3 separate regions of the Homo sapiens genome follow, and regions 1 and 3 are each linked to region 2. Evidence: promoter capture Hi-C in human tissues and cell types (Jung and others, 2019). All regions are on one chromosome and are shown on one strand. Each heading gives the region's core, a stretch centred on a gene start or on the middle of the fragment in contact. The rest is flanking DNA. Distances are from core to core; before and after follow the strand shown. Region 1 overlaps MOSMO (modulator of smoothened). Region 2 holds the start of VWA3A (von Willebrand factor A domain containing 3A). Region 3 overlaps MOSMO (modulator of smoothened).

What was found. Contacts are between HindIII fragments. The study calls those that stand out against the background at their distance.
Region 1: a fragment that was not itself captured here is called in contact with the fragment with the promoter of VWA3A in region 2 in 1 of the 25 tissues and cell types used here (dorsolateral prefrontal cortex).
Region 3: a fragment that was not itself captured here is called in contact with the fragment with the promoter of VWA3A in region 2 in 1 of the 25 tissues and cell types used here (H1 embryonic stem cells).

The regions. Positions count from the first base shown.
Region 1 is chr16:22,055,034-22,058,550 of GRCh38, reverse strand. All of the region lies in intron 1 of MOSMO (modulator of smoothened), which reads right to left. Among named protein-coding and RNA genes, the nearest start is that of VWA3A, 36 kb to the left of the region's middle. The HindIII fragment of the contact is 8,498 bases long and covers 1-3,517 here.
Region 2 is chr16:22,090,869-22,094,218 of GRCh38, reverse strand. It overlaps VWA3A (von Willebrand factor A domain containing 3A), which reads right to left and starts at 1,678. Exons shown (of 34, transcript NM_173615.5): 1 at 1,568-1,678. The coding sequence starts at 1,581. It overlaps LOC105371129 (a long non-coding RNA gene), which reads left to right and starts at 1,988. Exons shown (of 4, transcript NR_188624.1): 1 at 1,988-2,011. It also overlaps a transcript of MOSMO not described here. The HindIII fragment of the contact is 3,787 bases long and covers 1-2,748 here.
Region 3 is chr16:22,033,447-22,037,096 of GRCh38, reverse strand. The region is part of intron 1 of MOSMO (modulator of smoothened); the gene reads right to left. Among named protein-coding and RNA genes, the nearest start is that of MOSMO, 27 kb to the right of the region's middle. The HindIII fragment of the contact is 4,110 bases long and covers 199-3,650 here.

The sequences.
Region 1 (3,517 bases), core at 376-2,875, 36 kb after region 2:
TGTCTACATGTCCAACATCCCAACCCAAGTCAAAGTAAATTCTCAGCACTCATTTCTTATCCCTTCCAATCCTTTCTTCTTCATACTGCAAAGCAATTGTTTCTTTCTTTTTTTTTTTTTTTTTTGAGACGGAGTCTCGCTCTGTCACCCAGGCTAGAGAGCAGTGGCGCGATCTCGGCTCACTGCAACCTCCGCCTCCTGGATTCAAGTGATTCTCCTGCCTCAGCCCCCCAAGTAGCTGGGATTACAGGAGCACGCCATCACGCCCGGCTAATTTTTGTATTTTTAGTAGAGATGGGGTTTCACCATGTTGGCTAGGCTGGTCCTAAACGCCTGACCTTGTGATCTACCCGCCTTGGCCTCCCAAAGTGCTGGGATTATGGGTGTGAGCCACCACACCCGGCCTAGAACAACTGTTTCTAACATGCAATCTGATTTTTGTCACATTACCTTAAACATTTTAATGGCTTCCATCACTGTTAGGATAAAGAACAAAATCTCTACAATGGCCTACCAGGTCCTGTATTACCTGAACTATGCCTTTTTTTTCAGACAGATCTAATCTCACTCCCCCCACTTGGCTCTACACAAGTTAGCCTCATTGGTTTTCTTCAGCTCCTAAAAGCACCAAACTCTTTTCCACTTCAGGGCCTTTTGCACATTATTCTTTTTGCTGGCAGAACTATTCCCTGCTCATGTTCTTGCTAACTCCTGCACTTCCTTTCATTTCCAGTTTACATGTCATTTTCCTAGGGAGGACTTCCCTCGTAAATTCTTCCTGTTAATAGGTTCCTGTTAAAACTACATTTCTCCCTTTATAGCACTATGACAATTATATTTATTTTTATTTTTTTGTTGTCTGTTAACTGCTAGATAAGTTCTCTATATGGCCAGTATCTATCTTATTTTCCAATATATATCTAATGCCTAGCAGAGTTCCTGACATATAATGTCTGCAATAAATATTAAGTGAATGAACTATCAATCTCTTCTATGTAACTTTTGTGTCTGTTATTTGAGAACTCACATGCTGTGATTCAATGTGCAACCCAAAATTCATGTGTTGGAAACAATCGGCAATGCAACTGTGTTGGGAGGTGGAGCCTAATGGAAGGTGTTCAGGTCATGAGGACTCCACTCTTATAAGCAGATTCATGCTGCCATAAAAAGAGCTTGTGAGAATGAATTCACTCTCTTCCGCCATGTTAGAACAGTGTTCCTCCCTCAGGAGGATGCAGCATCAAGGACCCATCTTGAAAGCAGAGATTGGTCCTTCACCAGACACCTAAGCTGCTGGCACTTTGATCTTGGACTTCCCAGCCTCCAGAACTGTGAGAAATAATTTCTGCTCTTTATAAAGTACCCAGTCTTAGGTATTGTTATAGCAACAAAAAATGAATAAAGACACCACATTTTTTCACATTATACTCTCTCTCTCTCTCTAAAATACTAAGTTAGAGAATAGTCGATAATTCTTCATTTTAAGGAAGGAATTGTTTGAACAGTGACTTTCCTAGGTCACTGATACTATTTAATTAACTATTTGAGAGGAAGGGAAATAGAAAAAACTAGAAACAAATATGTATTTCAGTAAGTCAGCAAAACATGCTATATTTTAGGGACATATCCAGATAATAATTATGAATCCTGATAATGTTCTCATTTATTTCATGGACTAAAGGTATCCCTAAATAGAATCAGAAATGCATTTTTAACATGGCCAGCAAACTGTCATTTGAGATGTGTCTTGGGGAGTATGTTGGTTCCTAACGGACTAGGCTGGTTCCTGGGACAGTGAAATGTAAACATAGAGAAATCAGAGAGACACTAAAATATTTTTGTTTGTCTAATTTGAAAGGAGGGAGAAGGCCGGGCACAGTGGCTCATGCCTGTAATCCCAGCACTTTGGGAGGCCGAGGCAGGCGGATCACCTAAGGTCGGGAGCTTGAGACCAGCCTGACCAACATGGAGAAACCCCGTCTCTACCAAAAAAAAATATATATATATATAAAATTAACCGGGTGTGGTAGTGCATGCCTGTAATCCCAGCTACTCAGGAGCCTGAGGCAGGAGAATTGCTTGACCTGGGAGGCGGAGGTTGCGTTGAGCTGAGATCGCGCCATTGCACTCCAGCCTGGGCGACAAGAGCGAAACTGTCTCAAAAAAAAAAAAAAAAAAAAAAAAAGAAAGAAAGAAAGGAGGGAGAAAAGGAAGCGACAAGAGAAACTTGAAGGAAAAAAAGACTACAGAATTGACAATTAATGTCTGAACTCAGGCGTCAGTGGCAGATGTCCTAGAATATAAGTTATATTTGTCAAAACGTTTTAGAAAGAGAACTAAATAAGCCTAGTCCCCAAATAGAGAGGGCTTCCGGGCAAAGCTACAAAGTCTAGCACAGGGTATCCAGGCTTACTTTTGCCACCTCTCTGAAAGCAGGAATATACCCCAAGGTTCTACCCTGCCTCGCCCCCTGCCGGCCCATATTAGTCCCTTTAGGTTTACTGGTCTTTTGGGACCACAGTGTGGAGGACATATCACCAAACAGCTTCACAGTTTTGGCATGCTTTGTACTATTCAAGTCAGTAAGGCTGCCTAACTACTCTTCCTCTAAAGTTAGTGAAAAACACAGGCATATAAGAGAGGCATAATGAAAAGTCATTTCTTTTCCACCCTAAAGTGATGGCTAAAGGTTGATATGACTACAAGTATCAGCTTGCTATGTGAGCAACACCTACTGATCCACTTTCCATTACAAAACCTGATATGGGATAGAATTTTTGGGACTTGAGCTGCAAGGATAAATCTTTTTCAAGCAACTTATTTGCATTAAAGACTGATGATTGTTCTGGAAAGAATTTACTTTCATGAGAGAAAAAGTCTAGGAAGCAAAGTTAAGCTAGTAATGAAGTCTTTACCATCCATCATAAAGAAGGAGTGATTCTGAGTACTGCATGGTGTCACTTGTATTTGCCTCCGGTGGATTTGTATCTAAGCACAAGGAGGATGCAAGGGTAGTAGGAAAAATAGCTAGTTCCTTTAAAAGTTTGCAAGATACTGGAGGAAGTGGCAATCCTGTTGTGGTACTGTAAATGTCAGGGTGTAACATAAAATGAAACTATTTCAGTAGAGCATAATGTAGTTCATTTCAGCGTCCTGTCATTGGGAGATAACAGTATATCAACACTTAACCTAGAGGAAACAGTGGTGTGGATGTAGCAGTACCCAGAAGCAGTGTGTTGACTAAGGTGTGTGTTGACTAACACACACAGAAGGAGTGTGTTGACTCCTTCACACACACAGAAGCAGAAGGAGTGTGTTGACTAAGGTGACCAGGCGGATGCCATGCTACCCAGTGGAAACAGCATCAATCCTTGCAGTGGCCGTTGGTAATACACTGATGTATGATGTTGCACAGAAGCTGACCAGACTTGTTGACCCTCAAAAACAAATGGAGAGAAGGCAAGACTTTTCAGTGGGCTAGAGACTTACACTATTAAGAGAATTCCTGACTCAGCTA
Region 2 (3,350 bases), core at 429-2,928:
CCTCTTTCCAGCCAGTGATTAACAGCTCTTAATGAATTCAGAGGACTGCATGGCTAGATTCTGGGGTGACTGGTGCAGGCTGATGGAGAAGGGGTTGAACTGCATAAAATAAACAAAACAAAATAGTGCTCCAGAAAAAGCACGGGGCCGGGTGCAATGGCTCATGCCTGCAATCCCAGCACATTGGGAGGCTGAGGCAGGGAGATTGCTTGAGCCAGGAGTTTGAGAGTAGCCTAGCCAACATAACGAGACCCCGTCTCTATATAAAAAAAAAAAAAATACAAAAATTAGCTGGGCATGGCAGTGCGCACCTGTAGTCCCAGCTACTAGGGAGGATGGGGTGGGCAGGTCACTTGAGCCCAGGAGTTTGAGGCTGCGGTGAGCTGTGATCGCATCGCTGCACTCCAGCCTGGGTGTTGGAGTGAGACTCTGTCTCAAACAAACGAACAAACAAAAAAGTGCTGAACCTTTGGTTTCTTCATCTTTAGAATGGAATGGGGATAACAGTAACTGACCTGCCTACTTCAATGCTGTTATCAAGAGGATCAAATGAAATTGAGAAAGTAGAACTGCTTTGTGAAATATGAAGTACTATACAAATGTAGAATACCATAAAATATGGGCTGCATCTTCAAGCACTTCAGCATATGACACAAAAACAATCATGTGTTTCATGAACATTTATAGAGCACTCACTGCGTGCCAGAGAGAACGGGTGCTGGGGAGATAGACATGAACAGGACGCAGCCCTTTCCCTCAGGCCTTTGCTCAAATGAAATCTTATTAGAGAGGTCTTCTGTGAGTACCTTAACTCAAACAGCACCTCCTCCACCTGGCTTTGTCTTTCCCCACAGCATGTTTCACTATATATATTCACTTATTTACTTAACAGTAAATACATTCTATATATTTGCTTATCTACTTGTTTTAAATTTTCTATATATTTAGTTATTTACTGTCTGAACCCCCGCGCACCCCTCCTACATAAACATACTAGAAGTAGATCCATTTGGGCCGGGACTTAGTAATGTTCACAGCTAGGACATTTTTGCATAAAATAGAGTTTAGAACACAGTAGCTGCTCAAAAAACATTTGTTGAATAAATGCACTCAGAGCAGGTCCAGAGTTTAGGCAAAGGTGAGCTGAATTACCCTGGGAGGTGATTGCAGGAGAGGAAAAGAACAACCAGGCCATGGCAGATGGCATTTTGGTCCAAGGGAGAGAGGGAACCTTGATTATTGGGTGAAAATAATAATAATAATAATAGGAGTCTTTCCTGAATCCCATTTGCTGTCCCCAGGGAGGAAACCACTCCTCCTGTGGAAGTCCTCCTGTCGCTGCCCCTTCACTTGGTCATATGGAGTTGTCATGGCCTGTCTCCTAGACCGGCTCCATGACTTCCTTGTCTACTGGCACCCCAGCATTTAGCCCAATGCTCGGCATGTAGGGAGTGGACACTTCACACCCCAAGCTCCCTCGATCTTCTCACTCAGTCCAGAGCTTAGTATCTGGCCTCCCCGACACCCTCTCACCACCCCTGTCAACCCTTGTGATGCTCACCCTCACCTGTATTTCTTCATTTATTTCTCCATCTTTGGGAGAAGGGCTCCTGGCACTCCAGGGCCTTACTTCTCCTGGATCTCACTTCTGGTTTCTCCAAGCTCCTCCAAGCAACTCAGCAGCGAAGCTTGCCCTGCGGGAATGTGTTAGCTGGTCTCCAAGGTAACAGACTGCACCACTGCAGCTCGGGGCAGGGAAAGGGAAAACCTTCCTCACCCCAGGGAAGAAGTCACCAGCTGTGTTGTTGATAACCACTTCTCCCAGGTCACTCTGCTTTTCTCCACCTCACAAAAACCTGGAAGCAGGATTTAGACCTCTTTTCTAATTTCAGAACCTCTCAGTCAGCACAGAACTATGGTTTAGGCCAGTACAGCCCTGGTGCGTGCCTGTGGCCTTCCTGTGGTAGGAACAGAGGAGAGGTTCCAGAGAACTCTGCCACATGTGTCAAAGGTGGTAACTTTCTCTTCCTTCTCAGATTCCCTTGGGTTCCCTGAACACAGTCCCTGGGAGAGGTCAGACAGTCCCCTATCCCTACCCGGTCCAGCCCCACCTAAACCTGGCTAACACAGCCAAGCTCAGTGACCTCTTCGCATCAGAAGAGATCATCTGCCACAGTGGTTCCTAAGCCCGGATGCCCATGAGAATCACCTGGATTGTTTGCTAGGAAAACATTCCCATTCAGGAGATTGATTCAGAACTGTGAAAAGGTGTGGGAATGTGACTTTTTAACAATGGCCCCAGGTGATTATGATGTAACTAGTCCTTGGCCCATAGCTGGGAATCTCTCCAAACCCTTCTTTTATAGTGGTCAAGAGAGACAAAGTGATGTCACCAAAGTCAACCAACTTGTAAGTCGCTAAAGGATCTGTACTTAGTTTTTCATATCCAGGTCATTTCTCAAATCAGTTTTCACTTTCTGAGAATTTTATAAGTTTTATAAACTTGTAAGTTTTATCAGTTAGAACATGAGGTTGGGTGGTGGCTCATGTCTGTAATCCCAGCACTTTGGGAGGCTGAGGCGGGAGGACTGCTTGAGGCCAGGAATTTGAGATCAGCTTGGGCAACACAGTGAGACTCTGTCTCTACAAAAATAAAATAAAATAAAAATTAGTCAGGTACAGTGGCTTGTGCTTGTAGTCCCAGCTACTTGGAAGGCTGAGGTGGGAGGATCGCTTGAGCCCAAGAGTTCAAGGCTACAGCGAGCTATGATCGCACCACTGCACTCCAGCCTGGGCTACAGAGCAAGACCCTGTCTCAAAAATAAAGAACATATGCCACTTGTGGTAGTCATCATATGGTAGGGAACACCCTTCAGATGTTGACCCCAGCAGCCATGCCTATAGGCCAGGTCAGAAACAACCAACGTGCTCAAAATAGAAACTCCTTATCAACCACTGGTCACTGGGGTTGAGAGCACCATGTATAAGACCACAGCATTTGTTATGTGGCCAGCACCAATAAGGCAGAAAATGAGGAAGATCAGAAAGAGGTAAGAAGGTCATAAGTGGCTGTGAGCAACCAATGGCTACTCGGTGAACAAGAGATGAGGGTCCTTGTGCCCATCTTGATGGAAATTTTGGGTGGAAGGGGCTGGCTAATTTTGACAACATTTTTTTTTTTTTAGGCACGGGAGCCCCAAGCAGGTCGTCTACCACCCTCACACCTTTCTTTGCTTCCTGCATACATGGGTTTTCAACACTGTGCATAGAAGTAAAGTCCAACACTGGAAACTCTTTGTTCCTGCTTTCTTGTACTTGAGCCTACACAACACACATTCTCAATAGATCTC
Region 3 (3,650 bases), core at 1,004-3,503, 58 kb after region 2:
CTCAGCATCCTTAAAATGCTGGTGACCTTCAGGGTTCTTTCCTGGGTTCTCTTGTTTCTCCTTACTCTTCTTACTCTCCCTGGAAAATATTCCTACAATAGCTTCCAAAATCAGTCATAGGCTGATGACTTTTCATTCTGTATCTCCAATCCTAGTCTGACTTATGAGTTTCACCTGCCCACTAGGCAGATTCTCTGGTTTGACAACCTCTTCAAATTCAAAATATTAAATTCAGGATTCATATTAAAATAGCCTCCTACTGCCCTTACAATGGGGTCCAAATTCTTAACACAGTGTAAAAGGCCCTTCAGAAAACAATTTGGCAGTTTGTTAAACACTAAATTTGTGGCTGGGTATAGAATTACACCTGTAATTCCAGTGCTTTGGGAGGCCAAGTGGGGGTGGGGGAATACCTTGATGCCAGTAGCTGGAGATCAGCCTAGGCAACACAGTGAGATGCTGTCTCTACAAAAATTTAAAACTTAGCTGGGCACGGTAGTGCACACCTGTAGTCCGAGCTACTCGTGGGGCGGAGATAGGAGCATCACTTGAGCACAGAAGTTCAAGGCTACAATTAGCTGTGATTGGACCACTGCACTCCAGCCTGAGTGACAGAGCAGGACCCTGCCTCTAAAAAAACCCTAAAAACCAAAAAACAAATAAAAATTTTAGGCCAGGCGCAGTGGCTCATGCCTGTAATCCCAGCACTTTGGGAGGCTGAGGCGGGAGGATCTCCTGAGCCCAGGAGTTTGTGACCAGTCTGGGCAATATCAGGAGACCCTGTCTCCACAAAAATACAAAAATTAGCCAGGCATGGTGGTGTGCACCTATGGTTCCCAGCTACTCGAGAGGCTGAGGTAAGCGGATCACTTGGCCCAGGATGTCAAGGCTGCGGTGAGCCATGATTGGGCCACTGCACTGTAGCCTGGGAGAGAGAGCGAGACTCTGTCTCAAAAAATAAATAAGTAAATAAATAAATAAAATTTAAAAGACAAGGATTTCTACTTTTCCAAATTCTATTCGACATGTACTGGAGGTAACATCTAGAGCAATTAAGCGCAAAAACAAATTCTTTAAAACATTATTAGAACTAATAAGCTTAGAAAGATTGCAGGATACAAGACCAATATATAAAAATTAATTGTATTCCTATACACTAGCAGTGAGAAATCCAAAAACTAAGAAGGCAATGCATTTATAATATAACAGCAAGCAAACAACTACAAAAAAGTAACAACTACAACAAAACCCCAAAACAAGAAATCTAGGAATAAATTTAACTAAGCAGGTAACTTCCGATTTCCAGTCAGGCATGTAAGGAGGTTACAAGTTGTCATCCTCATTCATGGAATAAGAAAAATGCTGAACAAAATCAGTATAAACAACTCTTCTTAAATCCATCAGAGAACTGAAGACACAGGGCAAACCGCTGCCTGCAAAATTGGAAAGACAAACAGGTAGATACAAAAAATCACAAGTTATAGGTGCGGAAACCTCAAAACCTCCACAGAAACCTGAATGAAGGTAGGAAAATCTAACCTGTAAGAGGAATTCCTGAGGCTCAGTATGATTAAATCTGAGAGTTAAAAATTCCAGAGGGGCCCAGGCTTGAGCAAGGAGAGTGAGGGCACATTTTTGCATTTTATCTCTAGGAGCCCTATGAGGTCCTCACAGTGAAGATTAAAAAAAAAAAAAAAAAATCCCCTCCTGCTTCTGGCAGGGGAAAGGGGAAATAAGTCATTTTGAAATAAGCCCAGAGCACACTGTTTTCAACAAGGCGTGCCTGAAAAGAAACTATTTCACCGGAGCTGAACTGAATACCCAACTCCAGCCCTCTCTAGCTTTCCTGTCTCACCTAAGTGGGGCAAGGCACCAAGAAGCACTTGTGAAGATCACAGCCCAGGGCACAGGCTCACTCAAAGACTGAGATCTCCTCATAGGATTATAGAACTCTTCCCCTCCCCATGTACCTTACCGTCATTCATATTGACAGGACTCCTGTATGATCAAAGGGGAATATAACTCAAAGAACTGCAGATCTCAGGCCTTATTTAAGAAGTCTAGGCCAGGCGCCGTGGCTCACACCTGTAATCCCAGCACTTTGGGAGGTCAAGGAGGATGGATCACCTGAGGCCAGGAGTTTGAGACCAGCCTGGGCAACATGACAAAACCCCGTCTCTACAAAAAATACAAACAAAATTAGCTGGGTATGGTGGCGCATGCCTGTAGTCTCAGCTACCTGGGAGGCTGAGGTGGGAGAATCACCTGAGACTGGGCAACCACTGTACTCCGCCCTGGGCAACAGAGTGAGACCCTGTCTTTAAAAAAAAAAAAAAAAAAAAAAAAAAAAAACCCAAAAAAACAAACAAAAAAAACAGTTTCTAAACCCCAAAGACATCAAGGGAGATAAAATCTACACACAGGTATATCATATTCAAATTGTAGAAAATCAAAGATAAAGAGGAAATACTGAAAAAAGCCAGAGAAAAAACTACCTTACCTACAGAAGAGCAAAGATAAGAATTACATGAGACTTCTCATCAGGAATCACACGAGCAAGGAGAGAGGAGTGAAATATTTTAAGTGTTGAAAGAAAAATAACATGAACCTAGACTTCTGTATCCAGTAAAATTATCTTTCAAAAATGAAACAGAAATAAAGACTTTCTCAAACAAAAATTGAGAGAATTCTTCACCAGAAAGTTTGTCTTGCTAGAAATGATAACAGATAATCTTTAGAGAGAAAGAAAATGATTTCAGTCAGAAATTTGGACCTACATAAGGAAAGAAAGCACATTACAGAAGGAATAAATGAAGGCAAAATAAAATCTTTTTCTTATTCCTAACTGACAGACAACAGTTTGTTCAAAACAAATAATAGCAACAATGTGTCAGTGATTACAGCTTATGGATAAGTAAAATGAATGACAGCAATAAGGAAGAGGACAAAGGAATTGGGAATATTCTGTTATAAAGTAATTGTACTACTTGTTAAGTGGTATAGTGTCATTTGAAAGTGAACTTAGATTAGTTCTAAATGTACATAGAGTGTCCCCGTGGTCCGTGACTTACAGTTTTTCAACTTGACCATCGTGCAAAACCAGTATGTACTGGAGTACCTATAAAACCAGTTCGTTTTTCACATTTGGTGCCATATTCAATAAATTACAAGAGATATTCAACACTTTATTATAAAATAGCCTTGTGTTAGATGATTTTGCCCAACTATAGGCTAATGTAAGTATTGTGAGCATGTTTTTTATTTTATTTTATTTTTTTGAGATGGAGTCTCGCTCTGCCGCCCAGGCTGTACTGCAGTGGTGCATCTCGGCTCACTGCAAGCTCCGCCTCCTGGGTTCATGCCATTCTCCTGCCTCAGCCTCCCAAGTGGCTGGGACTACAGGCACCTGCCACCATGCCCGGGTGATTTTTTGTATTTTTTTTTTAGTAGAGACGGGGTTTCAAGGTTAGTCAGGATGGTCTCGATCTCCTGACCTCGTGATCTGCCCGCCTCGGCTTCCCAAAGTGCTGGGATTACAGGCGTGAGCTGGGCATCATGGCGGGTGCCTGTAATCTCAGCTACTCAGGAGGCTGAGGCAGGAGAATTGCCTGAACCCAGGAGGCCGAGGTTGCAGTGAGCCAAGAGCGTGC